5 separate regions of the Homo sapiens genome follow, and regions 1, 3, 4 and 5 are each linked to region 2. Evidence: promoter capture Hi-C in 16 types of primary human blood cells and fetal thymus (Javierre and others, 2016). All regions are on one chromosome and are shown on one strand. Each heading gives the region's core, a stretch centred on a gene start or on the middle of the fragment in contact. The rest is flanking DNA. Distances are from core to core; before and after follow the strand shown.

Region 1 (4,345 bases), core at 1,290-3,789, 300 kb before region 2:
GCCTTACTAGAGGCTTATTGAGTCTATTGCTCTTTACAAAGAACCAGCTTTTTGTTGTTGGTTTTTCTCTACTGATTTTCTGTTTTTAATTCAAATGATTTTTGCTCTAATTCTTATTATTTCTTTTCTCCTGCTTACTTTGGATTTAAGTAAGCTACTTTGGTCTCCTTTTTCTAGTTTCCTAAGATAGAGGCTTAGATTATTGATTTTTAGAATGTTTTTCCTAATATATGCATTCAATGCTATAAACTTCCTTTGAAGCACTGCTTTTGCTATATCCCACTAATTTTGATGTTGTATTTTATTTTATTTCATTTTTTATTTTTATTTTATTTATTTATTTTTTTGAGACAGAGTCTCACTCTGTCACCCAGGCTGGAGTGCAGTGGTATGATCTCGGCTCACTACAACCTCTGCCTCCCGAGTTCAAGCGATTCTCCTGCCTCAGCCTCCCAAATAGCTGGGATTGCAGGCATACGCCACCACACCTGGCTAATTTTTGTATTTTTAGTAGAGATGGGGTTTTGCCATGTTGGCCAGGCTGGTCTCAAACTCCTGACCTCAAGTGATCCACCTGCCTTGGCCTCCCAAAGTGCTGGGATTACAGGCATGAGCTTCCATACCCGGCCGGTAAGTTGTATTTTAATTAATTCAAAATATTTTAAAACTTATCTTGAGATTTCTTTTCTCACTCATATGCTATTTAGCAATGTGTTTAATCTCCAAGTATTTTGGAATTTTTGAGCTATCTTTCTCTTATTGATTTCCAGGTTAATTCCATTGTGGTCTAAAGCCAACATTGTATGATTTCCATTCTTTTAAATTTGTTAAGGTGTATTTTATGGCCCAGAATGTGGTCTTTCTTGGTGATTGCTTCATATCTTGAGAAGAATGTGTATTCTTCTGTCACCGAATGAAGTTGTTGATAGATGTCAGTTATATTCAGTTGATTAATGTTGCTGTTGATTCAGTTGATTAATGTTGCTGTTGATTAATGTTGCTGTTGATTTGATTAATGTTTCTGCCTGCTAGATCTGTTTATTTTTGAATAAAGGGGTGCTGAAGTCTCCAATTATAATAGCAGCATCATCTGTTTCTCCTTGTAGTACCATCAGTTTTTGCCTCACTTACTTTGATGCTCTGGTTTTAGGTACATACACGTTAAAAATTACGTCTTTTTTGAGAATTGACCTTTTTATCCCTAATAACTTTCCTTGCTCTGAAGTCTGCTGGGTCTGAAATTAATTTAGCTTTTCTGCTTTTTTGGGTTTAGTGTTAGCATGGTATATCTTACTCTATGTCTTTACTTTTAATCTGTATGTGTCTTTAAGGTGGGTTTCTTGTGAACAACATATAGTTAGTTGGGTCTTGTTTTTTTTGATCCACTCTAACAATCTGTCTTTTAATTGGTATATTTAGACTATTGACATTTGAAGTCAATGATTATTGATTATTGACATACTTGGGTTAATATCTACTATAGTTAGTACTGTTTTCTATTTGTTGCCCTTATTCTTTGTTTCTATGTTTGTCTTCCACTCATTTTCTGCCTTTTGTGGTTTTAATTGAGCATTTAATATGTTCGTATTGTTTCTCTCCTTTCTTAGCGTATCATTTATACTTTCTTTTTTACTTATTTTAGTGCTTGCTGTGGAGTTTGCAGTATGCATTTACAACAAATCCAAATCTACTTTCAAATAATATTGTGCTGCTTCATGACAGTACAAGTACCTTATAATAACAAAATTATCCTAATTCCTCCCTGCCATCCTTGTCTCATTACTATCATTTATTTCACTTACACATAAGCATACCTAGCATATATGAAATACTATAATTACACATAATCAGCACATTACTAATATTATGATTTTGGGCAAACCATTAGCTGTTAAATTAATTAAGAATAAAAATAAAAGTTTTTATTTTACCTCCACTTATTTCTTCACCTTTCTTTACCTGCTCTCTTTTTCATGTAGATCCAAGTTTCTGAGCTGTATCATTTGTCTTCTCTCTGAAGAACTACTTTTAACATTTCTTACAAGGCAGATCACTGCCCATAAATTCCTTCCATTTTTGTTTGTCTGAGGAAGTTTTAATTTCTCCTTCACTTTTGAAGGATAATATTGCAGGGTAGAGAATTCTAGGGTGGTGGGGTTTTTATCTCAACATTTTGAATATTTAACTTCTTGATGGCATGGTTTCTGAGGAGAGGTTGGATGTAATTCTTATTTTTCCTCCTTTATAGGTAAAACTTTTTTTTTTCCTTTGACTTCTTTCAGCGTTTTTTAAATAGTTGATTTTCTGTAGTTTAGAAATTATATGCCTTGGTATAGTTTTTTGTTGGTTTGTTTGTTTGTTTCTTTTTGGCATTTATCCTGTGTGGTGTTCTTCAAGCTTCCTGGAGCTGTGGTTTGGTTTGGTGTCTGACATTAATTTTGGGAAATTCTCTGTCCTCATTGTATCAAATATTAATATTTTTTTCTGTTCCTTTCTCTTTCTTCTCGTAGTGGTAGTCTCTTTTTGCATATGTTACACTTTTTGTAGTTATCACCCAATCCTTGGATATTTTTTCCAGTCTTTGTTCTCTTTATTTTTTCATTTTTGAAGCTGCTATGGATATATCCTGAAGCTCAGAGATTGTTTCTTCAGCCATGTCTAGACTACTAATAAGCCCATCAGAAGCTTTCTTCATTTCTGTTAGTGTTTTTGATCTCTAGCAGTTCTTCTGATTCTTTCTTAGCATTTCCATCTCTCTGCTTATACTGCCCATTTGTTCTTACATGCTGTGTACATTATCCATTAGAACCCTTAGCATATTAATCATAGTTGTTTTAAATTCCCAGTCAGATAATTCCAGCATCCCTGCTATATCTGAGTCTAGTTCTGATGTTTGCCTTGTCACTTCAAACTGGTTTTTTGGGGTTTTTTTGTTTTTTTTTTTCTTTGCCTTTTAGGATGCCTTACAGTTTTTTCTTGCCAGACATTATATACCGGGTAAAAGGAACTGTCAGTAAACAGGCTGTTAGTAATGTGAGTAACGTGTGGAGGGAGGGAAAGAATTACATAGAGCTGTGATTAGGGTGTTTTCATGAATTTGTGCCTTTGAGCTGTGAACCTCACAAGTGCTGTTCAGTCCTCCCCTGGCCTTAGATAGGACAGGATGGCTAGAGTGGGCTGGAGTTGGGGATTTCCTTGTCCCCAGATCAGTCGGGGTCTGATAAAACCTCAATCTCTGATAAAAAAAAAAAACAACCCTCAACCTCTGATAAAATAGTTTCTCCTAAGAGAAGCCCTCGTTAAGAAGAGCAGAGTGCTCTGGGCTATTTTAAAAAATGGTTCTCTCCCCACGTTCCCCACCCCCAACCCCCACACTGAAATCCTGAGATTTTCTCCATATTTACTATGAGAATCTAGTTGAGCTCCTGAAGAGCACGACTCTCAACTGAATGTACAAAAGTCTATCAACTCAACGACTGGGTCCCCCTTAGAGTTTTTGACTCTCAGGCTTGTCTGCTCTGAGCCCATTTGTTGGTTACAGTTACAGTTTTTCTACCCCAGCATTGTTCCTACAGAGGTTTCTGCTTCAGTAAGTTGCGATTCTCTGTATTCGCCTGGTTGGCTGTCTAATTCTGGGAGCAGCAGTTTCAGTTTGCCCTAGGACTTCACTTCACTTGGTGGATCTCGGAAGAGCTGTTGATTTTGTAGTTTGTTCAGCGTTTTGCTTGTTAGAATGGAGTGCTGCTGACTTCTAAGCCCCTTAGGTGCCAGACTTCAATGAGCAGGTTGTTTTCACCTGTGATGTCTTACACCAAGGACAACTAAGTGAAGAGGGAAAAGCAAAGGAATTCATTGAATTCAGACTGGAGATCTGAAAGATTCCCAGTCCCTGGAGGGAAATATAAATGTGACATTTACTTACTTATCTATATTTAGGGTATACGTAGAAAGGATGGCTGGAATGAAGTACTAGAAACAGTGGTTATCTCTGCAAGGTGGTTTAATGAATGATTTTGGTTTTGTATGATGGAAGACATATATATATATATATATATTTCTGTATTTTCCAAATTATATCTTAAATGAACATGTAATACTTCATGAACATATAATACAATCTCAAAGAAAAGAAGCAACATCTTAGGCCATGAACACTTATCTGTCTTTTCTCCATGTCTCCTTACAGTCTGCAAAATGAATGTTCACCGTCGATGTGAGACCAACGTGGCTCCCAACTGTGGAGTGGATGCCAGAGGAATCGCCAAAGTACTGGCCGACCTGGGCGTTACCCCAGACAAAATCACCAACAGCGGCCAGAGAAGGAAAAAGGTAACTGGCTGTTTGG
Region 2 (4,202 bases), core at 492-2,991:
TCGTTGACTATCAACCTGTATAGGTGCTCCGTGCCCCGAGATCTGAGAAAATGACAAAATACGTCTACTTCCCGGCCGGGCACAGTGACTCACGCCTGTAATCCCAATACTTTGAGAGGCCAAGTTGGGCAGATCACTTGAGGTCAGGAGTTTGAGACCAGCCTGGCCAACATGGTAAAACTCCCGTCTCTACTAAAAATACAAAAATTAGCTGAGGGTGGTGGTGGGCGCCTTTAATTCCAGTTACTCCGGAGGCTGAGCCACAAGAATCGCGGGAAGCGGAGGTTGCAGTGAGTCGAGATGGGGCCACAGCACTCCAGCCTGGGCGACAGAGTGGGACTCAGTCTCAAAAAAAAAAAAAAAGTATTTCCCAATTCTTCGTCAGTTTTTGCCCTCTCCCCACTTCGCCTTCTCCAGGCTCCTGAAAAGTATCTCCCCCAACCCTTTCTGTGTACACGGGGAAAACACGTGTTCATTTTTATTATGGCGCTGAAACCTACCCTTCTCTTCAAATCGCTTCTGTAGATCGTTCTAGTATAAAATGTGGCAAGAGGCTAAAGGGAGAGATATAGACCAGTTCTTTGGCCCTCGCTTTCCAACTTCAAGTTACACCTGTGAAACTCATGGGTCCTTCCACAGCCTTCAAAAACTAAGGGCGTCCCCTGTCCTCTCCCCAGATGTCCCTTCCCCATCGCCGGTAGCGAGTGGGAGACAGCTCAGCGCGGGGCAGGGGAGCACTGGGCCCGGAGATGGAAGGCAGCGTCAAAAGCGCCGCTGGAAAATCCCTGAGCGCTAACCGTTGCCTGTGTGAGCCCTTAAATCTACAAATTTCCAACACCTGTAGCCTTTGGGTTTCCCAGGACTTCCATCGACCCTGGCGGCAGAGAGGGCAGGCCTGAGATGCAGTGACTTGAGGGCACATGGCCAACTCTTGTCACTCCAAGATCACACTGGGGAACCAGACTGACTTCTCCAATTCTGAACTCGCCCCGGCCTCGGGCGGCTCAAAGGGCCTCCTCTGCCGCATCCCCGCCAAAACCAAACCGCCTGGCACAAGCCGGTAAGCAACCACCCTGCTGGGAGAGGGAAGGAAGAGTAGGCGCAGCCCTAGATCAATTTCCTTGCACTGCTTCTCCCAGACGGTCAAGTCAGCTGCGTCCCACCGAAAAGGGCGCATCGCCCACGCCCGAAACGCAGCCGCTGGGGGCCGAGAAATTATCCCCACCTGGCCCGAGGGCCAGGGACGCAGGAGCGCAGCAGCGTGGAGGGGCTCCGCGCTGGCCCGGCGCTGCCCGCGGTCCTGCCCTCGTTCCAAGGGCACGGCGCCGGTACGAGGACACCGACGCTGTGGCGCAACTGCCGTCCCCCGCAGCAATCCCGGAGCCCGGCTCCCGGCCGCCCCTCGGCCCTGCGCAGGCTGCCTCTCCCCGACGCGGAGTCCCACCCCGCTACCCGCCGCCCAGACGACCTCATAAACAAGTCCTCGAAGTGCGGAGGCAGGAGGCGGGGCGCAGCGCGGGGGCAGGAGGCGGGCCAGGGTCAGGGCAGAGGCTGCGGCCGCGCGTCCCCATTGGCCGGGACGCAGTGAGCCGCCCGGAGCTCGGCGCGGGCGGGGCCTGCCGGCGCGTGCCCGCCCACACACCCGCGCCGGTGCCCGCCCCCCGCCCTCCGCGCCCGCCCCGTGCCCGCCCCAAGCCGGCCGACGGAGTTTTTAAAGTGGGCTGCCGGCCGCGGGAGCTTTACACTCGCGAGCGGACCGCCACACGGGTCCGGTGCCCGCTGCGCTTCCGCCCCAGCGCTCCTGAGGCGGCCGTACAATCCTCGGCAGTGTCCTGAGACTGTATGGTCAGCTCAGCCCGGCCTCCGACTCCTTCCGACTCCCAGCATTCGAGCCACTTTTTTTTTTCTTTGAAAACTCAGAAAAGTGACTCCTTTTCCAGGGAAAAAGGAACTTGGGTTCCCTTCTCTCCGTCCTCTTTTCGGGTCTGACAGCCTCCACCCACTCCTTCCCCGGACCCCGCCTCCGCGCGCAGGTTCCTCCCAGTCACCTTTCTCCACCCCCGCCCCCGCACCTAGCCCGCCGCGCGCCACCTTCCACCTGACTGCGCGGGGCGCTCGGGACCTGCGCGCACCTCGGACCTTCACCACCCGCCCGGGCCGCGGGGAGCGGACGAGGGCCACAGCCCCCCACCCGCCAGGGAGCCCAGGTGCTCGGCGTCTGAACGTCTCAAAGGGCCACAGCGACAATGACAGCTGACAAGGAGAAGAAAAGGTAAGCGGGCGTCCGGGCCGATCAGGGGGCCGGTCCGAGGCCAGGGCCGGGCTGCGCGGGGCAGGCGCGACCGAGAGTGGTTGGGAGAAGAGTGCTGAGAGGTCTTCGGAGCTCGAGGCTCGGTTTGGAGGGCTGTGAGGGGGAGAGCATGTGCCCGGTTTGGGGGCGCGGATCAGCAGCTTTGCAGTGGAGACTTCTGCGGCTCGGAGGAGTCGGGGATTTGCGCGCACGGCGAGGCCAGGAGGCCGAGGGAGATGGCCTGGAGGTCGGAGGTGCTTCCGCGGTGCCTTTGAAAATCTCCCAGCCGCCCCGCAGCAGATTACCGTGGCCACCGGCGCTTGGAAATGTTTGTGGGTGCATGTCCTCGACTTTCTCTGGTCTCTCATTTTGGGGCAGCATCCACGTCTCTATTTTTCTCTGGATTCGCGGAGTCCTTCCAAATGCGCTCCTGTGCCCGCGCCGCGGCCCAAGTGGGCAAAGGGGGGCGGGAGGCGGAGAGCGGCTCAGGGACACGATCCTACCGAGGAGCCAGGACCCTTCAGAGCGCCCCGCTGCCGGGCTCCAGACCCCACCGAAGGTTGGAGAACCCACTTCCTCGTGCCGCACCTTGACTCTGGGGAGAGTAGGTAGTGAGTGACCTGGATTGCCCTGCGGGGGCAGATGGTTCGGTGTGTAGGAAGCGGACGGCAACACTGGATGTCCCTGGCAGGTCCGGGTGTCTGTCTCCGAAGAGGACAGAGAAGGGCAGCCACGATCTGCCCGCCTGCCCTCGCGAGCCTCTCGGCACTGGGTGAGAGGCAACTCTGGCCATTTCTTGCTGCCCTCTCGCCCTCTCCCGGCCGCTCCCAGTCCAGCCGGGCCCGGCGCTACCCGAGCGAGGGTTCGAGCCCTCTGCGCGGCCGCGCAGAAGCAGGCAGGGCCTCAACTTCTGCAAATGTGTGCGGCTCGCCGCCTGTCCCCTTTCTCCTCCTGTCTCCACCCGTGCGGCCCCAGTGGCCTGGAGCTTCCAGCCCCGCGCTTGGCCGCGGCTTGGCGAGGCTATGCTGCGGGAAGCTGGAATCCAACGCGCGGCCGGCTGAACCGCCTGAGCCGCGGGAAACCAGCGGCGGAGCGGCGGTATAGAGGTGCGAGGATGAGGAGGACCGACTCGCTAAGGGAGGGAGGTGACTGGCCGGGAGGGCTCACTGCCGAGGTTGATTTGCTCTTGTTCCAACTTCCACTACGGGACTGGAGCCAGAAACCGTGTATCCTCCGGTCGAAAGCAGCGGTTCCCACCTCGGGGCACCGATAAGGATTTGATAAACGGGAGCGAATCGCGCCTGTCCTGGCTCGGCGCCCGGGCCCTTCACTGCGGGATCGCTAGGGGAGGGGATTGGGCCCTGCTCCCCTTTCCTGGCCGTAGTCCCCCCTTTCTCGTCACCGTCGCGCCCTCAGACCCAAGACAAGTGAGGGAGCCCTGAGACTGCAGCCGGCACATTCCCAGGGCCCTCGGAGCAGTCCTGGGGTTCCATGTCTTTTGAAGGCAGCAGAGCAAGGAAAAGACTCTTAAGATTCCAGTGCGTTTTGTAAAAACCAATCATAATGCTAATAATGACTGAACCATCGAAAAGCAAAGTTATAGACAGCGCCTGCAGACGCTTTCGGGTCCGGAGCCGGGGAGGGAACTTGTGTATTTTACAACTGCGATGCCTATCGGGAATGTGGCAATCGCCGAGGTGGGGCCTGACAGTAATCTTGACAAATGTGTGAAGTGTCAGCTCCTCCTGCGCTCCTTAGCGCCGGGTTTTGTGCAGTTTTGTACCGTATATACCGAGAAACTTGGGAGCAGGGGAAAAATGATTTCGACACACCCAGCTACAGTACCTGGTTCGTTAGCGGACTGTTGGAAAGAGAGAAGAAGCGGGAATGGGAGCGGGAAGAACGTTGCGTA
Region 3 (4,040 bases), core at 1,496-3,995, 360 kb after region 2:
GTGTTTCTGTATGCTGCATGTGAAAATATCTATTACACAAATCAAGCACTCTGCTTTCCATTGCCAAGCATCTTTGGCACAAGAGCTGTAATAAGAAGTGTAATGAACATAAAACAGTTTTTAGAATCACTCCTTTGGTAGCTGGTATATGAAGCTGACAAGGCCCCCTCTGCCAAAGCTGCAGAAGGTCGGGCATATCCTTCCCTTAGCTCATATGGCTGCAGAGGAAGGAGGTGTCTTTCTTTGGGCTTCATCGCCAGGCAACCCACACACTTTGATGCTCACCTGTCTGCCTTGGGGGACTGGAGTTGAATGACTGCTTGTTTTGCTCCTGGGATCTGTGGGCTCCACAGTCGTCCCAGGCCTCCTTGCTTAATCGGACTCCCACCCATGGCATCTGAGTAGTTCCTCTTCTGGTCCTGTCACTATCATCTCCCTTTCTCTCTCTCAAGGCCTGTCCTTCTGTAGTACATCTTTTTAATAACTGGTAAGAGTCTCCTCCGACCTTCCCTTTGGAGACCTTTTCTCTTCAGTCAATCCCCGCCCCACCCAATCCCATCCCTTGTTCTCAGCGTCCTGCTCACAATCCCTTTTACTATGCCACTGACTTACCCAGACTGGCTAGGACATCTCTATTTGCATTGCATTGCAATATGGACTGAGGTGAGCTTGCCTATGAAATCAGCTGTGAACTTATTTTTTGTTAACTGTGATTTTAAAGGGCAGGGAGGAGAAAATGAATACTGAGGGAAGGAAAGGAGACCTAACATTTATTGAGTCCTTGGAGTTCTTGAGATAGATGCCTCATACACGTTAACTTATGCATCCTCACAATGATCTTGGGAGGTGTTATTTACTCCATTTTACAGAGGAGGAAATGGAGGTTAAATCACTTACACAGGCTGGGCACGGTGACTCACGCCTGTAATCCCAGCACTCTGGGAAGCCAAGGCAGGAGGATTGCTTGAGCCCAGGGGTTTGAGACCAGCCTGCCTCTACAAAAAAATAATAAGTTTTTAAAAATCACTGCCCAAAGTTCCAAAGCTAGTCAACAAAGAAACCGGTTACAAATTTGCTCTTCATTTAGTGTAAAAATCAATGAAACTTTTCTGAATGTTTCAGTCTTTAAAAAAAAAAAAAACATGAAGCATGCCATCCAATGAGCTGTGTGACCTGGGGCAAGTCAGTGGACCTCTCTGGGCAATAGTTTGAACATCTTTAATGTCAGGAGCCTGTGCTAGAAGGTCCTAACTCCTACAAGCTTTTAACCCAGGCTGTAATTGCCCTTGGGACTTCTTCACATCCAGTCCAAATCTTTAAAGAACCCAAGTCATGCTAACAAGAAATAAATGACTAACACTCTGGGAGCGCTAATCAGGAGCACTTCAGGAATTCCCTTCCTTTTTCCTGCCAGGCAGCAGTTTCACAGCCATTCTCCAGCTCTCCTAAATCAGGATCTGTGGGTGGACAGGAGGATGAGAAACACAGTGCTAAAGGGGCCTGGGTTTCTATGTCACCACCCCTGCCTACCCTCTGCCGCAGCCACTGTAGCCAGCGTGCCTCCACCTGGCTGTCTTTCCCTACACAGCCCGCATGCCCCCCATAGCTGGCTGCACTATGGGAAGGACTGATCCCCACCAGACAAGCTGGACTTTCCTGGCCTCCCTTGCACCCTGGGAGATCCTTGTCCATGTGGGGGAAATAAGATTATATTTATTAAAAACAATATAATTTATAGCCTCCGTGTACACACCTTGAAATTCCTGGGGCCATAAACTGGAAGGGCATTTCTTTAATCCCTGCAATTTACAGTTTTTACTCACCTGGCTTAGGTGGGGGGAAGAATCACACACATACATACCTGTTCACACATACACACATATGTATATGCACGTGTGTATACTGACTCTCTCCTTGGGATTTGCTAAGCCTCTCACATGAAGCCTCAACAGCCCTAGGGAACTGTGCTCAGGTCTCTGATTCCGCTGGAGCTTGCCAGCATTCCAGGGCCAAGTCAAGACTTTTGTAAATTGCTGAGAACTGAATTCTGACCTGGGAGCAAAGAGTGGACAAAGAATGGCACAGAGATGCCAAGGAAGCTGAGTTCAGGAGGGAAAGTGAAGCCTGCCCCACTCACCATGCTTGTCCTCTTCTCCCCAGCCTCCCAAACCCCAGCCCCTACACACACACCCGAAAAGAGGATTCAGCAACTGAATATGAGAGGGACAGACCTGGTGGAAGGCTTTGGTACCTGTGAAACTGTGCCCAGTTATTGATCTAGAGATTGACCACCAGAGGCAGTGTTATCATTTAAGACGAGTTTCCTTTGGCACTCACCATATCTTACAGCTTCTCCTATTTGTTCTTGTCCCAATCCTCTTCCGGCCCCCATCCAAGAAGCTCTGTGCAATTCAGCTAAATTTGTAGGACACTACTCCAGTTAGCACTGTGCTTAGGAATACAAAGTCCTTCTGGTACCAGGTCTGTTGCAAGATCTTGCACTTCTCAAGGTCACAGACTTGACAAGAACACTTGACTATGTTCTTGCTCCAACTTACAGAAACTGGAATGATGCAAGAAAGATGATGACAAGCTCATGCTCAAATAAAATGCCTGGGTCTTTCATCAAAACAGTGGCCAAGAAGCACATATTTGTACATTTTAAGTTAAAATAAGATGTTGAAGGCTGGTGTGTTTCATTGTCTGTTAACTGGTCAACAGTCCCAATTGCTTTTTTTTTTTTTTTTTTTTTTTTTAGATGGAGTTTTGCTCTTGTCACCCAGGCTGGAGTGCAGTGGTGCGATCTCAGCTCACTGCAACCTCCGCCTCCCGGGTTCAAGCAATTCTCCTGCCTCAGCCTCCCGAGTAGCTGGGATTATCAGCATGCACTACCATGCCCGGCTAATTTTTGTATTTTTAGTAGAGACCAGGTTTCACCATGTTGGCCAGGCTAGTCTCGAACTCCTGACCTCAGGTGATCCACCCACCTTCGGCCTCCCAAAGTGTTGGGATTGCAGGTGTGAGCCACTGCGCCCGGCCCCAGTTGCATTCAGTGAGAGCATGTGTGATGATACCTTAACTCCTATTTTTATTAACATCTAGTTTGTAAAGGACTACAGAGACACTGTGCTGAGCACCCTGGAAGGGTGGGGCTTGAGCCAGGCTGATGGACACGTGGGAGGACCAGGCTGGGGAAGGACTTGGGGCATGAACTTCTGTCTGGATATAGCACCAAGTGGGACAGGGTCGGGGGTCAGGGAGATTGGATTGGCCAGAGCACAGGAACTTGCAAAGAAATACACAACAGGACATAGGTAGGATAGAGAAGAGGCAAAAATATGTAAGTAGGCACCAGTTAGTGTAGCACATGATTTCATATACTGTATATACTTTAATTTAATCATAGCAACCATGTGAGAAGAGTACTATATCTTGACTTTCAGTTGAGGATTAGGCCCCAAAAAGGCTGCTGATACAACAGTACTTAATTTCAGGTGGGGCTAGGGACAGTGGTTCCCCAGCCTCTGACAGGGTTCGTCAAAGATTATTTATTTGCTTAATCTGAGCTACTTAGTGGTAAAGCCTAGATTCCATCCACCTTTTGTCTCCAGGCCTAGTGAATGCTCTTTTCATTTTACCTCACCTACCTAGTTACTACCATATTAACTTGCTAAAAATATTCTATGAAATGGATTCTATCTGCAAATAAATGTAAATAATATATGTGTCTTGCTGAAGAAGAATAAAATAAGCACTTGCGGCCCCACCACTCAATTTAAGGCATAGAATATTACCACCGCTATCGAAGGTAGCGTGAAGGTCACCCTTCAGAGGCGACCATGATGCTGAAATGTCTGCTGATGACTCCTTTACCCTTTACAATGTTGCCACATACATCTGCTGAATAATTTCCATTTGCCCCTTCAGCTCCGTCTCCAGGCTTCTCCATACTGCCGTGTGTCCCATGAGGCTGGCCCATCTGGACTGCACCAGGGAGCTCCCTTGATCCTTGGCTTCCTGGTGGGTTTGGCCAAAGTGAA
Region 4 (4,321 bases), core at 1,077-3,576, 270 kb before region 2:
CCTCCACTTTTGACCTCATTGGAGCATTTTGTTTTTACCATGACGTTCCAGGGAGAATGCCAGGAAGGATCATGGGCAAAAAGAATTCTCTCAGTCCGCCTCCTTAGTGTGGCAGGAGGTACAAATTAATTCCTTTGTTGGGTCAGTATGATATTCACCTGGGATTCATCAGCAGTATGTAATCCATTTTATCGGGAACACTTGTGTGCGGGTTGCTAGGAAGCTAAGCTTATTACCTGGCTCTGGCTCTTAGAGCTGAGCCTGCTGGTGCTAACAGATTTGGGCCTGAGAAGTTTGTGGCCTTCCCTGGACTTCAGAAGGAGGGTGGAAGGTCCAGTAAAGTGTCCAAGGATGAGAGTGAATGGGGAAAATGACTTTTGTTCTCAGTGTTTCTTTCACCATTTATCCAACCTATCCCCATGTGTTTTTGGTATTTTTTTTTCTTTTTCAGGTAAGAGTTTAAATCCAACCTCCTTTATCAAGCCCCAGTTTATGAAAACTTTCTAGATTCACCAGTGTTAACACTAAAAACATACCAACACAACCAAAGGAAACACGTTGTCATGAATGGTGAAATACTTCTACCATCCAATTTGCCCAGAGTTTTATTCCCTTGGGAGAGCTTCTTAAAGATCTAGGAAGTATCTTTTGATGTACATAACTCAGAGATTAAACACACTTCACAAAGTATAGGTAGGCTCCACTGAAAGAAAGCTCGAAAATTTGACTGTAAAAAAAAACAAATGTAGGTGTGATTGTTGACCTTGCAAAAGCTAACTCCTATTATAAAATGTTTACAAAAGAATTCACGAGAGAACTCCCGGGGTTGGCAAGATCCATTTGGATTGCCAGACGTGGTGACTGAGGTGCAGCAGTGCTAGGCAGAGTAACTGAACCCTGAAGTGTTAAAAAACAGCTGTGCAGGAGCAGTACCAGGGAACGTAAGACATCTGGAACACACACCCCCAGCCAGGGACGAAGTGTTCTGCTTCAGTATACATTAGACAACCAGTATTTTTTTTAGTACCTGGTACGGTATGTCTTCAACTTAATATCAGGTATTCCAGGGATAGAAAAAGACACAATCCTTGTTCAAAGAACTGCTGGTCCACCTAGGGAGGTTAGGCTAATAGGTGAACCAGAGAATGAAAATCAGAGGAAGAGATGAGTGGGCTGACTAGTAGGTATACTCCTACAAATTGGAGGAAACTGAGGCACAAGCGTTGAAGTGCCCCTTCCGGGTCACATACACGCTCATGTGCTCCCTCTCTCTCCCTTGCTCTCACTCTCTCCCTCTGTCACTCTCTCGCTGTCTCATAAGGGACTTTGTCACAGGAATAAGAACCCTGGGTTCCACCTACCCCACAGGAGCACAGTGGCAAGGTCCCATCTGATTCAAGGAAATTGGCTTTGTAGGGTTGTTATTGTGTGAAAAGGAGCAAGCCCTGTCCAAGGCAGATCTGGATGTTTGTGTAGTTCAGATCCATTTAGCTCCCTGGCCAGTGTTGATCTCTGCTGCTTTAAACCACATTAATCTCTGGGAGGGCAAACTGACCCATCACTATGGGAACCAGAGTGAGCCTGTGTCCTGGGTACTAGGTAAACACTGGAAGTCAGTACCTGGTAGACGCCATAGGCAGAAGCAAACTGGGGCCTTCCAAAAGCTGAAAATGATCAATAGATATGATTCTTGTGCATCCATATCCCAGGAAGGAGGGATTCTGTTTAGCTCTTTGAGCTAATTGTTAATTTTCAAATCTTGAAGACACTATTGAGCATGAAATGCAGATATTCAAATACCCCTTTCTCCTTGGTAGGAAATGGTACTAACAGTCTGCAGGATCATGGGAGTAAAAAGCGCAGTCTAAGCACATAGGCATTCATGGGGAGAGTATACGAAGTTAGAGGGTATAAAAGCTATGTGGATGGTTCAAAGATTAAGGTAAAGATGTGAAACCTAAAATCTCAATTCTCTAGAATGGGACATTTAGACTTCATGGGTAGAGGAGGACAAGAATCGGGAGTATGGGCAGTTAGACAAAATCAGAAAGAAGCGTAGAAGACTATGCAGAAACATTAAGAATGTAGTGGTGGAAATGTTACCTTTTTGGAAGATGGTATCATGCAGAAGGTTTGAATGCATTTCTCTGATCTTTAATTCTACCAAAAGTGTCACTCTGATGTAAGAAAATATTTAGGTTGAAAAGGTGAGGAACTGGCCACAGCTTTCCTAAATGTGGTTGACAACCTGTATCCAAGAGAACAGAATGAATTGGTCGATTTGCTGTGTCATGACATTTTAGGGATGTTTTTGGGATGTTTAAGGGATGTTTTTGAAGGGGATTTATAAGAGAGTAAATGAGACCCCTTAAACACAGAGATCTGAGGCATAAGAGCTGGTAATTTTAAAAGATACACAGCTGACTACAGAAGGAAAGAAGCAAGTCCCAGAATAGACATGTAGCATATTTCCATTTCTATAAAACCCCCAAACAGGCGAGACTAAACAATATTCTTAGGAGGAAACACATGGGTGATGAAACTGTAAAGAAAAGCAAGGGGCCGGGTGTGGTGGTTCATGTCTGTAGTCCCAACATTGGGAGGCCAAGGCAGGAGGATTGCTTGAGCCCTGGGAACATAGTGAGACCCTGTCTCTACAAAAAATTGTTTTAAATTAGCCTGGCACGGTGATGTGTGCCTGTTGTCCCAGCTACTCTGGAGGCTAAGGTGGGAGGATCGCTTGAGCCTAGGAAGTCAAGGCTGCAGTGAGCCATAATCATGCCACTGTACTCCAGCCTGAGCAACAGAGCAAGACCCTGTCTCAAAAATAAATAAAAGAATTAGCCAGGGATGGTGGCACACACCTGTAGTCCCAGCTATTCGGGAGGCTGAGGTAGGAGGGTAGGTTGAGCCCAGGAGGTTGAGGCTGCAGTGAAGCATGATTGTACCACTTGTACTTCATCCTGGGCATCAGAGTGAGACCCTATCTCAAAAAAGAAAGAAAAAGAAAAGAAAAACAAGATCATGATTACCAGGGAAGTCCAAATAGGGACTGAATGAGGATGGGGAGAGAGGTTGCAATTAAAGAGAGTTAAAGGGGTTTCAAAGGCCAGCAACCATGTTCTATCTGTCAAGGTGGGTCACAGCTAAAAGTGAGTCTTATTTGATCTTTAAAATGCATATGCATATTTTACATATTCTCATTCGTAGGTATATTTTACAATAAGGCAGGGAAGGGGAACAAGAACATGAAAGCATCCAAACTGTCATAGGCACTAGCATTTTAAATGATGACATGCTCTCCAAAAATTCGAACTTTAACAAAAAACTGAGCTTGTGCACTACCTCTGTGTATCATTCTTTTGCCACTAAAGTTTCGATTTTCCTGTTCTTTTGGCAGTATGATCTGTCTCAAGGACAAGAAGTGTGGTGACTGGTCCCATGGCCTATTTAGCTGGAAGAATGAAGCGTAGTCCCTATCCTCTTTCCAAGACCAAGGCCAAGATGGGGCTCAAGACCAGGGGGTTATCTACAGAACTGCTGGCCCACCTTCCACCTACCCTGGGGGACCTCCCTCTTGAAGGTTGGGATTCTTTTTTTTCTTTTTTTTTTTTGAGATGGAGTCGGGCTCTGTGGCCCAGACTGGAGTGCAGTGGCAAGATCTTAGCTCACTGCAGCCTCCGCCTCCCGGGTTCACGTGATTCTCCTGCCTCAGCCTCCCGAGTAGCTGGGATTACAGGCTCCCACCACTGCACCCGGCTGACTTTTGTGTTTTTAGTAGAGACGGGGTTTTGCCATGCTGGCCAGGCCGGTCTCAAACTCTTGACCTCAAGTGATCCGCCCGTCTCAGCCTCCCAAAGTGCTGGAATTACAGGCGTGAGCCACCGCGTCCGGCCGAAGGTTGGGATTCTTAAAGAGTAACCTAGCCCAGCCTCACTCTTTCAGCAAGCAGCTCTGAGTTGGGGGGTAAACTTTCTTCACTGCCACAACATTTGTGTTTTGCAACATGTTTTTAAACCATGTTTTATAACTAAGAAGATGCCAAACATTTCATTTGGCAGTTTGTATTATGAAAACCATAGTTATCTTTCCATTTTCACCTATAAAGTGATGTTATAAATTGAACCTTTTAAACTGTAGATGTGTGTGTTCTTTCTAGATTCTGGCATATTCTATAGGGGACATAGCACTCACTGTGCTGCCCTCCCCACCTGCCACCACTGGTTGAAAATAACAGCTTTCCTTGCTGCCATCACATACGTAAATGTAACTAACATTTATAGAGTGTTTTCTATAAGCCAAGAATGATAATAACTGATGT
Region 5 (4,158 bases), core at 1,375-3,874, 280 kb after region 2:
ACCATGTTAGCCAGGATGGTCTCGACCTCCTGGCCTCATGATCTGCCCACCTCATCCTCCCAAAGTGCTAGGATTACAGGCATGAGCCACCGCGCCCGGCCCATATATAGTCTTTTAAAATGTAGTATCAGGAGGCAAAAGAAAGCAAGAAAACTTTCTGGAGGACAGTTTTTCCTAAAGCAAAAAATAAATGGCTTTACTAACAAATCACTTCAGAAATTCCATGTATTCAGTTTTGTAATCTTGGGGAGAGAAGGAATTTCTAAATGTCATAAAGATAAAAGCCATAAATGAAAATATTAATGATTTCACTGCATAAAAACTTAATACCACATCAAATGCCAGAAATAAAATGAAAAGTCATATAACCTGAGATGGATGGCAGAAAAATGGGTTAACATCCTTAGTATACAGGAACCTCTTGCATATGAGTTAATCAGAAGCAGCCACAGATACCAATAGAAAAATGGGCTAACAATGAAAAATTCACCCCCCAAAATGCAGATTGCCATTGAAGATAGGAAATATGTTCAAACTTATTAGTAGTCAAATGTAAGCTCAATTTGCACCTATAGAATTGGCAAAAAATGAGAAATTAATTATAATACCCGTGTAGTAAAATGGACACTCTGTTGTACTATTGGTCATTGAATCAAAGCAGTCTTGACAGTATGCAAAATCCTTAAAATCATGGACACTTTTGATCAAGCAATTCCATATGTAAGAGTTTATCCTAAGCAAATCATTAGGATGTTGGTCAAAGTGTACAGTGTTAGGAGGAATACATTTTTTGAGATAACACTGCACAACATGGTAACTACAGTTAATAATGGTGGTGCTGGGCACGGTGGCTCACACCTGTAATCCCCGCACCTTGGAAGGCTGAGGTGGGTGGATCGTTTGAGCCCAGGAATTCGAGACCAGCCTGGGCAACATGGTGAAACCCCATCTCTACCAAAAAAAAAAAAAAAAAAAAAAAAAAAAAAAAAAAAATTAGCTGAGCATGATGGTGCATACCTGTAGTCCCAGCTACTTGGGGGGCTGAGGAAGGAGGATCACTTGAGCCCAGGAGGTGGAGGTTGCAGTGAGCCGAGATAGTGCCATTGCACTCCAGCCTGGATGACAGAGTGAGACCCTGTCTCAAAATAAATGAATAAATAAATAATGGTGGACTGCGTATTTCCAAATTGCTAAAAGAGTAAATTTTAAATGTTCTCACCACACAAAATGATAAGTATTTAAGGTGATAGATGTTAATTATGTTGATTTAATCATTTCACTCGTGTGTGTGTGTGTATATGTATATATAGAGAGAAAATATTGCTTTGTACCTTATATAAAATTATAATTTGTCCATTTATAATATTTAATAATAAAAGTAAATTATTAGGGACGTACTTAGAGCTACAAAGATGCTGAATTGTTTATAATGGCAAAAATTCCCTGCATCTATTAAAACTTCATACTATCTGTTAAGATTTCATATTTATTATGTAGCTAAAGGGAAAAAAGTAGTTGCAAAACAGTATGATCTCATTTCTAGACTCATCAGCATTTGGCACAGTTGCGTCCTTCCTGAAACTTTCTTCAGTTGGACTCTCTTGGTTTTTCTCCCCTCTCATTGGACTCTGCTCCATCTCTTTACCTCCTTGGTCCCTGGTTGGAGGGCCCCAGTGATGAGCACTCAGCTTTGTGGATGTCTTCTTCTATAGCTACACTCCCTAGGCCTAAATGAGCTTCTGTCAGTCTTGTAGCTTGCACAGTCTACAACCAAAGATTCCTGGATTTCCATCTCCAGCCTGGACCTCTTTCCTAAATTCTCAATTTGGTTATCCAGCTGTTTACTCAACAAGTCCATCTACATGGCTGAGTATCTCAAAATTAACATGTCTAAGATATGATTCTTCTTTTACCCTCCAAGCCTGTCCTCCCAGTTACTCAGGTCAGAAGCCCTCAGCTGGGTGCAGTGGCTCACACCTGTAATCCCAGCACTTTGGGAGCCCGAGGCGGGCAGAATTACCTGAGGTTGGGAGTTGGAGACCACCCTGACCAACATGGAGAAACCCCATCTCTACTAATACAAAATTAGCTGGGTGTGGTGGCACATGCCTGTAATCCCAGCTAGTCAGGAATCTGAGGCAGAACCGCTTGAACCCAGAAGGCAGAGGTTGTGATGAGCCAAGATCGAACCATAGTACTCCAGCCTGGGCAACAAGAGTGAAACTGTCTCAAAAAAAAAAAAAAGCCCTGAAGTCGTACTTGACCTTGCTCTTTCTCCCATACCACACATCTAGCCTTCGGCACAACATACCTTCAGAACATATCCAGAATCCAGACACTTTTTTCTAACTCTTCCCTCTATCACCTGGTTCAGACCTCCTCCATCTCTGGCCTGCTTTACTGGAATAGCTTCCAACTCACCTTTCTGCTTCTGTCTATGCCCCATGGTCATCTGTTCTCAACACAGCAGCCAGAGTAAGTCTTAAAAATGTAAGCGCAATCATGTCACTGCTCTGCTCAGAATCCTCCAGTGGGTCCCCAGCTCAGACTAAACGCCAAAGTCCGCACAGTGGCCTACAAGCCTCTGTTCCCTCTCTGCCTTACTCATTGTTCCCCAGGCCTCCTGGTCTCCTTTGTTGTTCCCTCAAAGTTCTACCTGAGAACCTTTGTACTTTTGTTGTTCCCTCTGCCTGGAATGTTCTTCCCTATGGACATGATTCATTCTTTCACTCTTTTCAGGTCTCTGCTCAAATACCACATCCTCAGTGTGATCTTGTTCCTTGACTGCTCCAGGCATGCTCCTGCATCAGGATCTATCTGCCTGGAGCTCTTCCCCTAGGTATCCCTCACTGCTCAAACTTCCCCATTGAGAAGCCTCCCCGGACCCCCACTACCATTGTCCTCAGCACTCCCCGCCTCCCTCACTCTGCTTTTTCCCCACAGCATTTGCAACCATCTGCTCTGTATTCCCTCCCCTGTGCCTCTTACCCAGCAGATGTCAGCACATGTGGACGCCACACAGCAGGGACTCTGCTCTTTCGTTCAGTTCACTGACATATCCCCAGGACCTAAACAGTGCTTGACATATAGTAGATACCCAGTAAATATGTGGTGAGTGAAATAATTTTTCATAGAAAGTCTGGAAGGACATATACTAGTATTTTAAAATCCCCTCTGGGGTTATGAACATGGATGATGAATGTATTCTTTTTGCATAGCTGTATTTTATAATTTTCTTTATAATGATGTGTTTATGTCATGCCAATTGTATAAACATGATCTTATATATTTGTGATTTTTTTTCTCCCTCCCAGATAGGAGCATGCTGCTATGTGGAATGTTCAGCTTTAACCCAGAAGGGATTGAAGACTGTTTTTGATGAGGCTATCATAGCCATTTTAACTCCAAAGAAACACACTGTAAAAAAAAGAATAGGATCAAGATGTATAAACTGTTGTTTAATTACGTGAGAAACATCTTCAGTGGCCAAGGAAACTGTCCATTTCTCTCAGAAAGCAAATGAAATGCTACAGCTATACCCAGACCTTTTATAGGTAATGAAGCAGTTCAAAACTTGAAAGAAAACAAAACCTGTCCTCAGAATTCTATAAAGTGTATTAAGAATGTTCCTTAAAGGTTTAAGAAGCAGTAAGCAGCATCTGAAGCCACAATCTATTATAAATACTTTATTTCAACTAGAAGGTACAATCTCTCAGGGGTTTCATAGTTTAAAAAGCTACAATCACATCATGTTGTAACTACGTAAAAAACAGAGCTGTAAATGGAACTGCTTGGCTTTGACCATACACATTTCTGCCCAGCCCTTACAGAATCTGCACAAAGAAATATCTCCCTTTGCTCCAGTTAATTGTTCTTGTATGTAAGTTGCTTTCTATTCCAGTATATCCAGAGTGGTGAAATAACAAGGCCAGCCACGTAGCCAAAGGTCGCTCCAAGCGTACAGGAGATGGGCCATACCTGAGGAGAGAATGTATGAGATCAAAAAAGAACAAATGTTTTATTATTACTTGAGCACAAGTGTAACCTAAATATTTCTATATTAAAGCTTAATGTGCTTTCTTAAAGAATGCCAAAAGTGTAATAAGGTCATAACTGCATTTATCATGAACACTAAAAATGTACACATTTTAGTTAATG

What was found. The method cuts DNA at HindIII sites, captures the fragments that hold promoters and counts their contacts. A CHiCAGO score of 5 or more calls a contact.
Region 1: a contact is called between a fragment that was not itself captured here and the fragment with the promoter of EPAS1 in region 2, in 5 of 17 cell types (M1 macrophages, endothelial precursors, M2 macrophages and 2 more). The highest score is 10.6, in M1 macrophages.
Region 3: a contact is called between a fragment that was not itself captured here and the fragment with the promoter of EPAS1 in region 2, in 1 of 17 cell types (neutrophils). The highest score is 7.1, in neutrophils.
Region 4: a fragment that was not itself captured here is called in contact with the fragment with the promoter of EPAS1 in region 2 in 3 of 17 cell types (endothelial precursors, M1 macrophages and M2 macrophages); the score reaches 9.8 in endothelial precursors.
Region 5: the fragment with the promoter of RHOQ-AS1 here is called in contact with the fragment with the promoter of EPAS1 in region 2 in 2 of 17 cell types (neutrophils and naive CD8 T cells); the score reaches 8.4 in neutrophils.

What each region holds. Positions count from the first base shown.
Region 1 is chr2:45,997,218-46,001,562 of GRCh38, forward strand. It overlaps PRKCE (protein kinase C epsilon), which reads left to right. Exons shown (of 15, transcript NM_005400.3): 7 at 4,187-4,329. Among named protein-coding and RNA genes, the nearest start is that of EPAS1, 300 kb to the right of the region's middle. The HindIII fragment of the contact is 288 bases long and covers 2,396-2,683 here.
Region 2 is chr2:46,295,666-46,299,867 of GRCh38, forward strand. It overlaps EPAS1 (endothelial PAS domain protein 1), which reads left to right and starts at 1,742. Exons shown (of 16, transcript NM_001430.5): 1 at 1,742-2,272. The coding sequence starts at 2,247. RefSeq lists silencers at 1,196-1,775, 2,006-2,335. The HindIII fragment of the contact is 15,577 bases long and covers 1-4,202 here.
Region 3 is chr2:46,654,861-46,658,900 of GRCh38, forward strand. LOC105374584 (a long non-coding RNA gene) reads left to right here. Exons shown (of 2, transcript XR_940058.3): 2 at 1-129. Among named protein-coding and RNA genes, the nearest start is that of CRIPT, 40 kb to the left of the region's middle. The HindIII fragment of the contact is 2,972 bases long and covers 1,260-4,040 here.
Region 4 is chr2:46,024,346-46,028,666 of GRCh38, forward strand. All of the region lies in intron 10 of PRKCE (protein kinase C epsilon), which reads left to right. Among named protein-coding and RNA genes, the nearest start is that of EPAS1, 270 kb to the right of the region's middle. The HindIII fragment of the contact is 4,201 bases long and covers 227-4,321 here.
Region 5 is chr2:46,577,614-46,581,771 of GRCh38, forward strand. It overlaps RHOQ-AS1 (RHOQ antisense RNA 1), which reads right to left and starts at 2,625. Exons shown (of 2, transcript NR_104182.1): 1 at 2,422-2,625. It overlaps RHOQ (ras homolog family member Q), which reads left to right. Exons shown (of 5, transcript NM_012249.4): 5 at 3,315-4,158. The coding sequence ends at 3,470. PIGF (phosphatidylinositol glycan anchor biosynthesis class F) reads right to left here. Exons shown (of 6, transcript NM_002643.4): 6 at 3,324-3,978. The coding sequence ends at 3,865. The HindIII fragment of the contact is 6,203 bases long and covers 1-4,064 here.